Regions from separate parts of the Homo sapiens genome. Here region 1 is linked to region 2. Evidence: promoter capture Hi-C in 16 types of primary human blood cells and fetal thymus (Javierre and others, 2016). All regions are on one chromosome and are shown on one strand. Each heading gives the region's core, a stretch centred on a gene start or on the middle of the fragment in contact. The rest is flanking DNA. Distances are from core to core; before and after follow the strand shown. Region 1 overlaps NDRG2 (NDRG family member 2). Region 2 holds the start of PIP4P1 (phosphatidylinositol-4,5-bisphosphate 4-phosphatase 1).

Region 1 (5,894 bases), core at 1-2,500, 550 kb before region 2:
CCCGGGGCACACCATGGAGGTCTCCTGTTGAATGGCCCTTGTTGCCCTAGAGTGGGACCCAGCCCTCACCTCCCCCAGAGCTAACCTGGGAGGTGCTGAAGGGGCATTGGGCCACCGTAAGCAAGGGAAAAAGGGCAGATCATGCGGGGAGATGACCTTGATCTTTGATTGCTACCCTAACCTTGACCTTTAACCCGTGATTCCCCCCAGCTCCTGGAAGAGATGTCCTAATATCTCTTAGGGACCCAGACCCCTAAATTCTCCTCCTCCCCCATTTTGATGTTAAGGTGGAGAGGGCATATGCATCCTCTGTCCTGATCTAGGTGTCTATAGCTGAGGGGTAAGAGGTTGTTGTAGTTGTCCTGGTGCCTCCATCAGACTCTCCCTACTTGTCCCATATTTGCAAGGGGAGGGGATTTGGGGCTGGGGCTCCATTCACCAAAGCTGAGGTGGCTTCTCATTAACCCTTTAGGACTCTGAAGGGTATGGACCTACGTGAATGTGTGTCAGGGGGAGACTTGCTGGTGGGTTAGTGGTCCTCAGGATGTGATAGAAACATCCAGTGTAAAAAGGAAGTTGGAATGGGAGTTGGCGGGCAGTGAACGAGTGTGGGGAAGGATTGGTGCTGGGGCAACAGGAAGGGGCCTGGGGCCGTTTGGCTGCACTAACTTTGGTAGCTCAGTGTGCATCTAGAGTGGGACTGGGGAGGGAGCTAAGCTTGGGCTGGGCTGCTTGGGGCTTGGCATAGGGTGGAAAGGGCTACCCTGGGGCTCTGACCACACTGTAGTATGTGTGGAGGGTGCCCTCCCGTCTCCCACAACTTCTGCTATAACAATAAACTGTAGAGGAATCTGAGTACCGTTATTATTCTTTGTCTAGGTGTGCCTGCATCATGCTCCTCTTCCTATCTTCTCCCTGTCCACGTCTCATATTCTCTTCTCAAAGTGATATAAACCCTGGGAGAGGGCCTTTGTGGCATAGGCACTTCACAAAATATGACCACATAGAAACTGGCTCTTTTCCAATACAACGGTGTTGCCTTGATATTGTAGTATTTTTAAGCCTGGGAGAGAGGAACCATTTAGATCTTAGGAGACTTCCTTATCAACTATGGGTAACTGAGAAAGGCCACAGGATTTCAGAGATACCACCAACATCACCACCTTTAAGAAAGAATTGAAGAGGCTGGGCAAGGTGGCTCGCATCTGTGATCCCAACACACTTGAGAAGCTGAGGTGGGCAGACCACTTGAGCTCAGAAGTTTGTGACCAGCCTGGGGAACATGGTGAAACCCCGTCTCTGCAAAAAATACAAAAATTAGCTGGGCTTGATGGTGCACACCTGTAGTCCCAGCTACTAGGGAGGCTGAGGTGGGAGGATCACTTGAGCCCAGGAGGTGGAGGTTGCAGTGAGCCACGGTCACACCACTGCACTCCAGCCTGGGCGACAGAGTGAGACTCCATCTCAAAAAAAAAAAAAAAAAAAATTGAAGAAGACTGATGACAGAAGTGCCCAAGGATATCTTGAGACCCACCTTCCTGTAGGATCCTCCCTAGGGGGTCACCTAGATTCCATTTTGGATGTTTTAGTGCAATCAGTAGACCAGGGTGCATGAACTTAACTGTAAGGGGTGGGCTGCTCATAGTTCATTCTGATCTGAAGACTCTTTCAGGAGGGGTGCAGCAAAAAGGAGGATTTATCTTGAGAATTCCTCTTCCCTCATGGAATCCAAGGGATCTGGGAGCTAATTAAGTCTATGTTTGTGGTTTATTAGGAAGCTTTTTCACAACTATGAACAATGAAGAGGAATTCTTATTTTGCAGCTGTTGCAGGCTGATTCTTAGGGTCTTGAGGCACAAGAAGTAAAAATGAGGAGGCACCTTGTAGCATTATTGACAACACTACTGTGATGGACTATTACAAGGTCTTTTGCTAGATTGCTTTACAGAAACTCCACAGGCAATTATACCCTTTCCTCAATGAAACTGAGCTGAGGACTAATGCACTTGATGTCTGGTGCTGACACACTGATTGACATGGAAATAGGATATGGAATATGCCCTTGATTCTTGAGCATTTCATCACTGTCCTTCATAGAACTGGGTCTATTTTAAATGTGGTAGGCCAGGGTCAGAAGGGGAAGCGGAGGTATTGGGTAACAAACAGGGTTATGGAGCTCGCTATTGGATGCTGAGGGTGTTGGGTGACCACACGCAGGGCAGGCAGCAGAGTGCGAAGCACCACACTGAAGAAAAGAAGCGGCATAATTGGAATCAGTGGGGACCAACTAGCTTCTCGGAAAAACACAAGGAAAAGGCAAAAACCTATAACCAGCATCAATCTTTACTGGCAATAGCTGCTGTTGTGTATTATGGATGGGAAGGCAAGTCTTTTCTGCATATCTGCCTACATAGATAACACTGTCAGCAGGGCAATCTCTACAAATGGGAGCACATTACATGTATGTGTAGATAGGTGAGTGTGTGCATACACATCTATCATGTAGGTGGGTGTGTCAAATGGGTGATGACTGTGTGTCTTTCCCATAGATGTCTCTGCATAAGAAATCTGAGTTTGGTAGAGAGAAAGATGCCCTCTGCTGGGAGCTAGTCGTGGGGTGGGGGTTTTGTCCTTGACTGACCTCTCTACTCTGTTGGAGAGCGACGAAAAGCTCAAGAATCAAGAGCATATTCCATGTCCCATTTCCATGTCAATCAGCTAAACATTCCAGTTTAGCCCATGGGGTCACAGTGCCCCCTTGTGGTTGACATGGTTCTTAATAACTTTCCCCAGTTCCCAGGTCCCTTGGTGTTTCCTCGGTCTTACAGCTCCATTGTGCTTTGTGGTTCTGTGTAGTAGCTCTATAGGAAGGAGGTCCTAATATCATGGTTGGCCATTGATCTTGACCATTTTCAAAATTTTCAAGATCAGAGCTGGTCTCCTCTCAGAGGAGAGGAGAGGTGATTTTACAGAAGCAGAACCACAGACTCCCTACTTTTTGTCTCTGCTTCAGGTTTAGGACCCCTGTTTCTCTCTTCCCCTTATTGTCAAGGAACGTGAGTACTTCCCAGACTTTAGGGACAAAATCCCAAGACAGCTAAGAGAAGATTCAATGGGAAAGAGAGTAAAACCGGAACAGAGTGAAAAGAGCCTTATGGTTTCAGCTTGAAAATTCTGGATTTCACGAAGAGATTTTAAAGGGTGAGTCTCTGATGGTACACTGAACCTGCAGTAGGAGGGATGGATGTTAGCCATAAGAGAGTATATGAATGGTAAGGGAAAATACTGGAGTGGGAGACACCACCTTCCTTCCTCTTTTTCCTTCTCTTTCTTCTTTCTTTCCTTCTTTCTTTCTTTCTTTCTTTCTTTCTTTCTTTCTTTCTTTCTTTCTTTCTTCTTTCTTTTTTTCTTCTTTCTTTTCTTTTTCTTTCTTTCTCTTTCTTCTTTCCTTCTTTTTCTTCTTTCTTTCCTTCTCTCTTTCTTTCTCTGTCTTCCTTCCTTCCTTTCTTTCTCTCTTTATCTCTTTCTTTTCTTTTTCTTCTTTCTTCTCTTTGTTTTTTTTCAGATAGGGTCTCACTCTGTCACCCAGGCTGGAGTGCAGTGGTGCAATCTCTGCTCAGTGCAACATCTGCCTCCTGGGCTCAAGCAATTCTCCAATCTCAGCCTCCTGAGTAGCTGGGACCACAGGTGTGCGCCACCATGCCCAGCTAGCTTTTTGTGTATATATAAATATATATATTTTTGTGTGTGTATATATAGATGTGTATTTATGTATATATATGTGTATATATGTATATATAGTGTAAATATATGTGTCTATATATGTGTGTGTGTGTGTGTATTTATTTATTTTTTTGGTAGAGACAGGTTTTCCCCATGTTGTCCAAGCTAGTCTCAAACTCCTGAGTTCAAGTGATCCGCCCGCCTCAGCCTCTCAAAGTGCTGGGATTACAGGCATGAGCCACTGTGCCTGGCTGGGAGACACCACCTTTCTAGAGCAATTTTAGGACTAACTAGAAAGTGAGAGTCAGTTCTGACTAGAGGCCAGGGTATGGTGAGGGCAAATAGTGCCCAGAGCAATGTCATTTGTTTGTACCCTCTCTCCTCACTAACATCAGAATTTCCCACTAATTGGATAAATACATAGTAAAAGTTGAATGTCCTGTGTACTTGACATTCAACAACTGTGAAGACAGTAACAAAGAACACAATTTAAAATTTTTAAAAATCAACAACCAGCATTTTATAAGCATTCCCACACTGGTGCCTGGGGTTTCAGGTGTCATTCCTCTCTGCACCTCTTTGGCTTCCCCCTTGCTAGTGGCAATGGGCTCCCCGCTCAGGTCAGTCAGGGGGAACGTGAGGGTGTCTGGCTGGTTGTCACACTCACACATACAAACCCACTCACACTCTGGCAGCTGTTCCTTGTACCTTATCAGACCAGAGGCAGGAGCAAGGGACTGTTTCTTGCAGTGAGGGTGGCAAGACATTCTAAAATTGTCCTTCAGGGTGAGGTGAAGTGGCACAAACTCTTGTAAGAGTTTGTCTGGAGCTCTTTGGTTTTTGTTCCTGGATGTGTCTTGTCCTTGTGTGTTGATCTCTGACTGACCTCCCACACTACTCCCAAAACTCTGGTTTCTCTCTGATGCTATTCCCCATCTCTCTTTCTTTACACATTGTCATCCTACAACTGCAATATTCAAATCAAACCCTCAGCTTGAAAGCAAAGGAAAGATGAGTTCCAAAGGGTTACTTTAGAGAAAAATGTACTGGTGGCAGAAATGGAATGCTGGCTCTAGGAGGGCAGTTGGAGGTATCGTTGTTCTATATTCTTCCTCTTTAAGTATATACAAAGTACATGTGTGGAGTGGAGAATGAGGGGTAGGGACAGAGGACAGGGATTGGGGAGACTTGAGAATGCTCTACATAAATCCTCTCCTGACTATTCCAATTGGTTTTCCCTCATCCCTTTTCCCATCCTGCACGTCCTTCCTCTGATTTTTTTTTTTTGGAGACAGAGCCTCACTCTGTTGCCCAGACTGGAGTGCAGTGGTGCAATCTCAGCTCATTGCAACCTCCGTCTCCCAGGCTCAAACAATCCTCTCACCTCAGCCTCCCAAGTAGCTGGGACTACAGGTGTGCACCACCATACCCAGCTAGTTTTTTGTATTTTTTGTGTGTATATATATATTTTTTATTTTTTTTTGTAGAGATGGGGTTTTGCCACATTGCCTGGGCTGGTGTTGAACTCCTGAGCTCAAGCGACACGCCTGCCTTGGCCTCCCAAAGTGCTGGGATTACAGGCGTGTGCCACTGTGCCTCGCCTTTTCCTTCTTTTTTTATTTTTTCAGCTCTCACCATTCTAGTTACCATTTGTTATAAGCTATCTCTTAGGGCTGAGTGAATCAAGGCTTACTCCTGAATCAGGTTTGCAGTCACCATGCCCTGGGCATCTCGGCTCTCCTTCCTGTCCTAGGGTTCTTATGCCTGTTCTTATTCCAGCCTTTCTTGTTTTAATCTCATTCAGAAATCACATTCATCTTCTGCTTCCGTATAACCCTCTCTGGCTCCTTGCTGGGAATTCATATCTTCTGAAAACAATCAAAAGGTTATTTCAGTTTCCTAGTCCTGATGTTCTCCCTGATATTCTCTACATGAGCCATTCTCTAGTTTTATTCTAGCTCTTGAAACAATATGGTTCAAACTAAAGATGGTTCTGTTCCTGGTTGGTAAGAATTTTGGAAAAAGGAAAGGAAATAGCCATGGAAAGGAAAGAAAGCATTGATGGCTGAGGACAGAGGAGACTAAAGCAGGAATCCAAGGGCTCCTGGGATAGAAGGAGGCAGAAAGTTCAGGACTCATCCACCTATGCCTGACATATCCCAAGCTCTACC
Region 2 (6,740 bases), core at 3,058-5,557:
ACCACCCTCTATTCCAAAGACCTTGGCTCCTAGAAAGGGAAGCCAGGAATTCCCTAAAGGAAAGAGCAAAGAACTGAGGCCCAGGAAGAGCAAGGAGCACAAGGGAGCAAAGTCCCAATGTAATTAACGTAAATTAATTCTTTAAAACCAGGTCACACCCTACCCAATCCCACCCAACCCCCGGCAAACTACCCCTCGTCTTAGTTAACTCACTCTGCACATTACCAGAAACTTTCTGTGCCTTTGAAATGCAGTAAGGGATTGTGTTGTTTTCACACAGGTGGTAAATTACCACTTCAGGAAAGAGGAAAAAAGAAATAGGGCATGTGGAATATGTGAAAAAAAAGAAATCAGATTGGGACACTTTGGGTCATAGAAGCCAAGCAGATGTTTTCCACCCCATCCTCTGGCCATGTACACACTGTACTAGTTATCACTTTGTTGGAAATCTAAAGAAAAAAATGCTTTGAAATCTATTCTATTATATAACACAATGAAGTGTGTTCCCCCAAATTCTTATATTGACGCTCTAATCCTCATTGTGACTATATTTGGAGATAAGTCCTTTAAAAAGGTAATTAAGTTTAAATGAGGTCATAATGGTGGGGCCACAATCCAATAAGACTGTTGTTCTCATAAGAAGAAGAGAGGCCAGGCAGGGTGGTGCTCACCTGTAATCCCAGCATTTGGACACCAAAGCAAGAGGATCACTTGAGCCCAGGAGTTAGAGACCAATGACCAGCCTGGGCAACATAGTGAGACCCTGTCTCTACAAAAAATTAAAATATTAGCTAGGCATGGTGGCATGCACCTGTCATCCCAGCTACTTGGGAGACTGAGGTGGCAGGACTGCTTGTGCCCAGGAGTTCAAGGCCGCCACAGACTATGACTGCACCACTGCACTCCTGCCTGGGTGACAGAGTGAGACCCTGTCTCTAAAAGCACGGAAAAAGAAGAGAAAGAGGAAGAGAAAGCAAAAATGTGTGTAGAGAAAAGGCCATTTATGCCACAGTGAGAAGGTGGCCATCTGTAAGCTAAGGAGAGAAGCCTCAGGAGAAAGCAAACCTGCCAATATCTTGATCTTGGGCTTCCAGACTCCAGAGCTGTGAGAAAATAAATGTTTGTCGTTTATGCTATCTATAGTGTTTTTTATGTCCTAGCAAATTAATACACCTCAATAGCCTAACTGTTCTCAATCTAAGTGAGAAGATCCCACCCCATAGGTAAAAATCAGGCAATACCTGAGACACTCAATATTTACCAGAGATAATATTAAAATGGCTTATCTGTAAAATACAGGTACCAACCAATCAGAACCAATGGCGCCATAAACAACCAATGCCAGCCACCCTGTAGTGCCCCAGCTGAATATCCTCCCTGCTTGCAACTGCAGCTAACAATATTGTTCAGTACCCAGCAAATTTATCCCAAGATGGGGCTTAAGTTACTTCATTAATTAATTAGAGAGCCATCTATCAAGCAGCTTCTATGTTCCAGGCATTTAGCATAAAAGGGGGCTCATCCCAAGCACCTTCTCTCTGCCACTTCTGTGCTTCTGTCCCTTTCAATCTACCTATCAAATTATTTGAATGTAAAATATTAGATCATAAGTCAGAAGACGGGGATTTAGAGCTCCATTTCAATCTGTCACTTAGCTTAAATGACTCCAGTTTACACAGCCTCAGTTTCCACATCTGTAAAATAAAGATATAGTCTTGCCTTCCCTGTCCACATCACAGTGGGTTCTGAAATAAAATGAATATAACTATGAATGTGCTTTATTGGCCGGGCACAGTGGCTCACGCCTGTAATCCCAGCACTTTGGGAGGCCGAGGCGGGTGAATCACGAGTTCAAGTGATTGAGACCATCCTGGCCAACATGGTGAAACCCCATCTCTACTAAAAATACAAAAATTAGCTGGGTGTGGTGGCACACACTTGTAATCCCAACTACTCGGGAGGCTGAGGCAGGAGAATCGCTTGATCCCGGGAGGTGGGCAGAGATCACACCACTGCACTCCAGCCTGGCGACAGAGTGAGACTCTGTCTCAAAAAAAAAAATGCTTTATTAACTGTGAGCAAGTTCCAAATATTATGATTACTTTTTGCATTTTTCTGCCTATTGATCTACTCAACAACACAGAGCTCAGATCCTAGTTATCCATGCACAATACTCATTTTTCTTTATGTTTTAGAAGTTTTCTCTGGCTGCTCTAGCTAGAAGTGATCTCTTCTTTTCTTGAACTTGAATTACATTGTTTAATTCTTTTATTATGAAGCATGTGCTGTATCATGAATTTCTAGTATTGATATTTTTCCATGTAATAAAATACTAGTGCTGATTTTCTTTTTTTTTTTTTTTTTTTTGAGACACGATCTTGCTCTGTTGCCCAGGTTTAGATCATGGCTCATTGTAACCTTGAACTCCTGGGCTCAAGCAATCCTCCACCTCAGCCTCCCAAAACACCGGGATTACAGGCATGAGCCACCACTCCTGACCTGATATGTTATACTGTCAATGTTTACACTATTCTGTCTCCCTACCCAGAGTGTAAGCTTTTTTAAGGAGTGTCTTTCACAAAGTGTAGATATTTAAAAAATATTTTTAGGACAGTTTTTGGAATATATGTGTAACTAGGGCGCAAATAATGGATCCTACTCCAACCCCAGACAATGCTTGAGCATCTGTGTGCCACAAACAGCAGAAAAAGCAGCAGACTGGCCTCCCTCTATGGAGCTACAACCTCTTCCCTATTTTGTATCTGGAGCTTCCTTAGTTCTTTAAGTGTCTGTTAGGGGCTCTTATCTAACTGGTCGAAGGTTACTAGCTTCCAAGTAGAAGTTGGCCTGAGAAAACCCTGTCTAAAAAAATCAGGACCTAGGTGAAGTCTCCAGCCCCTGTAGCAGCCAAGTGCTGGGACATCTGCAGTTCCTTTGTTATTACATATTTGGGGCTGGCTGTACTTTCTTTGATGCACTTCCTTTCTTAGTGGAGAGTCTGCTAGCCAAACTGATAATGGACCTCCTCGGGGTTTATTGTTTTTATCAATTCCTTGTTGCTTCCCATATTTAAAGCAGTCCCAGTTTGGGCTATGACTTGGGAAAAAATCCAGGTGTGGTTCAGGCGCCCATAAAGACCACACGAGACTTCAGGTAGGGGAGGAGGCACTGCCCCTTTGCTGGAAGCAAAGTTGAGACAGGCCTAAAGACTGTCCCATCTGTCAAATAAGGTGACGAAAATAACCTTGTATTTGATTAATCCAATCTACAAACTTGTGCGTATGTTAAAGGTTGGTGGTCATAAAACTGAGTAAAGGCACGGTGGCTTGTCCCTGTAGTCCCAGCTACTGGGAAGGCTTAGGCAGGAGATCAAACTCAGGAGTTTGAGTCCAGCATAGGCAAGACCCCATCTCTATTGAATTTTTTTTTTTTTTTTTTTAGTAAAACGATGAAATCTTCTAGTAGTGGAGACACTAATGAAAAGATAATTTAACAATTTGATCAGCAATGGGGAAAGACGGGGCTCTGTAAGGACAGCTTCCAGGAAAACCCAGTCTTGTGTCCTGTCCTGAAAGTGACTCTAGCGACAAAGGCTGGAGTGATAATCTTAACTTTTTAATCCATTTCCTTCTGGTACCTCATTACTCTGACTTTTTAAAGGTACTTCTTTGAGTAGAACAGCTAACTTTGTCTACTGTTCCCCACCGTCCATTTTCTCCCCGCTCAGAAGATCCCAAGCTTCCGCACTCCTTTATTGCACCCGCCCAGCCTCCTTTAAAATGCATAAGCCACGCCCCCCATGTTCTGGCGCTAAGTTCGGGCCAATGCAGTTGCGCCGCTAGGATCACAGGACGAAAGAAGTAAAGTCACCAGCCAATAGGAAACCAGCTACAACGCAAAGCCGGAGAAAAGTGTTTTAGTGGTGTCTTTGAACCAATGAGGAGCAGAGCAACAGGGACCGTGCAGCTTCCAGAAACACGTGACCAGTTGAGCAGACGCAGCCTAGCCCTACCTCCTGGTCTGGAGGTAGCGCGATGGGCGTCGCTCCCAATAGCTTGCAGAACCTCTAGTCACGTGCAGGTTTTGCAAGCCCAGCAGCATCTGGCAGGTCATGTGACAGTTGACGTTTGTGCGTCGCTCCCCAATGGAAAAGGAGAGCTGCCTTCACAGGACCAGGAATTGGTTTATCTACGCGAATAATAGCATGACCCGGGCGGGGATAGCCTATCACGTGCTGCTAGACGGAACGGGGCGGGGCAGGCCACTGGTTGCGGAGTGAGCTGGGCGCGCGGCGCGCAGGCGCCCTGGGGACCCGGTAGCGGCGGTGGCGGTGGCGGCGGTGGCGGTGGCTGCGGCGACGGCAGAGGCGAAGGGAGCCGGATCGCCGACCTGAGCGGGAGGCGGCGGTGGCGGCCATGGCGGCAGATGGAGAGCGTTCCCCGCTGCTGTCTGAGCCCATCGACGGTGGCGCGGGCGGCAACGGTTTAGTGGGGCCCGGCGGGAGTGGGGCTGGGCCCGGGGGAGGCCTGACCCCCTCCGCACCACCGTACGGAGCCGGTAAACATGCCCCGCCCCAGGGTAAGCCGGGGCGGGTCCGAGGTGCTCCCCGGGGTACTCTGAAAGCCGGGGAGGGGGCGGGACCGAGGGCGGAGGCGGGTCCCAGTCGCCAGGTGCGGGACTGCTGCACCTGTGACTGGGCGAGGCTTCCTTCCCTCCGTAATCGCGACCACAGCCTAGGGACGGAAGGGGGTTCTGAGCAACCTGATAGAAGTGCCAATTATGAGAAGCCCTCCGAGCTTGGTCAGAGGGTTGAAGATCAGAAGGACTTCCCTACCACCGTGGAGCATCAGTGGGGGTGTAAGTGATCCCAGCCCTTCTATTTGCTTCCTCTCCAGCATTTCCCCCGTTTCCCGAGGGGCATCCAGCCGTGTTGCCTGGGGAGGACCCACCCCCCTATTCACCCTTAACTAGCCCGGACAGTGGGAGTGCCCCTATGATCACCTGCCGAGTCTGCCAATCTCTCATCAACGTGGAAGGCAAGATGCATCAGCATGTAGTCAAATGTGGTGTCTGCAATGAAGCCACCGTGAGTTACACATATCTATGAAATGGGCCCTGTTTCCTGGATCCTCTTTCTGATGTCTTGGTTCTAGACCCTGACCTTCCGGCTATTAGCCAAGTGCTTTTGATGATACCCAGGTTTCAGTTCCAGGTGTCTCACACAGCCATTTCCCCAGAAGCCACTCACCAAAGCTAATGTTCACTTTCTCTCACTTTTACACCTAGCCTAGTTCCTATTTGCAAATCTCATGATATAGTCTTTCTTTTATTTCTCCTTCCTGGTTAGCACCTTATTTTTCTGATCTCATAAAGTGTTTTTGGAGGGAAGTGGAGGGGATTGGGATTAGAGGTTTGCTTGCTGATGACCCTATTATTCTCTAGCCAATCAAGAATGCACCCCCAGGGAAAAAATATGTTCGATGCCCCTGTAACTGTCTCCTTATCTGCAAAGTGACATCCCAACGGATTGCATGCCCTCGGCCCTACTGGTAAGAGGCATAAGGTGGGGAAGGGCCTAAGTGGGGAACTGGAAAGTCAAAAAAGGATGAGCGTATACAGAGAATGTAAAGGTGAGAGAGCCTAGTGTTTATTTAGGAGAAAAGGCTTTGAAGCATGTGCCTCAGGAATGTTATAGCTGTCTTTCTCGTTTCTCAATAAAAATATTGAGATGAAATGATGTCGTTTCGGAGAATAGAGAGCCTTGGGGACTGGGTGTGTTATCCTGAGGTCGGAGGGGAATTGGGGACCTGAAGTTTAAACAGTGCTCTTTCTTTCTCAAGGATTCTTGAGGGTATACAGTTGGGGGACAGAGTATCTTAAGTACAGAGAAGTCGAGTGACTTAATAGACAGGGAGTGGGGGATGTGGAACAGGGACTGTGAAGATTTTTAGGATTAAAAATTTTTCAAACACAAGTTTGAAAATACAAGTCTTTTTCTTTTGTATAGCAAAAGAATCATCAACCTGGGGCCTGTGCATCCCGGACCTCTGAGTCCAGAACCCCAACCCATGGGTGTCAGGGTTATCTGTGGACATTGCAAGAATACTTTTCTGGTGAGGAAGGGGTATTGGGAAGGGGAGGGGAAAGGAGACTAAGAGTCATTTCGAGTATATTTCTTAGAGTAATGGTAATGACCCCTGAAAGGTCTGTCCTATGGGAACATGTTCTGCATCCCCACCCCAAGGTTCTCATTGAGGGAGACCCTGCTTGTGCTATTATTTTTGTTTTCTTTCTCCATAGTGGACAGAGTTCACAGACCGCACTTTGGCACGTTGTCCTCACTGCAGGAAAGTGTAAGTGATTAGGGATTGAGCTGGTAATTGATGTATGGAGTAAAAACTACAAGGCCATAGAAAGCATCCATTTCTATTTGCCTCCCCACAGGTCATCTATTGGGCGCAGATACCCACGTAAGAGATGTATCTGCTGCTTCTTGCTTGGCTTGCTTTTGGCAGTCACTGCCACTGGCCTTGCCGTGAGTACCCTTGCCCCAACCTCTTTCATTCTGCAGCCTCATCTCCATAGGCTAAGATTTGGGAAACTGCTACCCTAAAAAAAAGTGGAAGAAACTTGGGGGACTAGTTTGTTTTGTTTTAAGATATGGATGAGCTAAAGTGCAAAGTGGCTGATCAAACAGACTTTATTACTACTACAAGAGTGAAAAACAGCCTTCCTTTCTC

Evidence for each region. The method cuts DNA at HindIII sites, captures the fragments that hold promoters and counts their contacts. A CHiCAGO score of 5 or more calls a contact.
Region 1: a fragment that was not itself captured here is called in contact with the fragment with the promoter of PIP4P1 in region 2 in 1 of 17 cell types (M1 macrophages); the score reaches 5.6 in M1 macrophages.

The regions. Positions count from the first base shown.
Region 1 is chr14:21,011,733-21,017,626 of GRCh38, reverse strand. NDRG2 (NDRG family member 2) reads left to right here. Exons shown (of 16, transcript NM_001320329.2): 16 at 1-855. The coding sequence ends at 31. Among named protein-coding and RNA genes, the nearest start is that of MIR6717, 8.7 kb to the left of the region's middle. The HindIII fragment of the contact is 1,061 bases long and covers 720-1,780 here.
Region 2 is chr14:20,459,001-20,465,740 of GRCh38, reverse strand. It overlaps PIP4P1 (phosphatidylinositol-4,5-bisphosphate 4-phosphatase 1), which reads left to right and starts at 4,307. Exons shown (of 7, transcript NM_144568.4): 1 at 4,307-4,557; 2 at 4,896-5,086; 3 at 5,443-5,549; 4 at 6,008-6,113; 5 at 6,301-6,353; 6 at 6,445-6,535. The coding sequence starts at 4,416. RefSeq lists enhancers at 3,643-3,722, 3,055-4,020, 4,023-4,092, 4,021-4,987 and silencers at 4,213-4,622, 4,683-4,852. The HindIII fragment of the contact is 6,669 bases long and covers 3,741-6,740 here.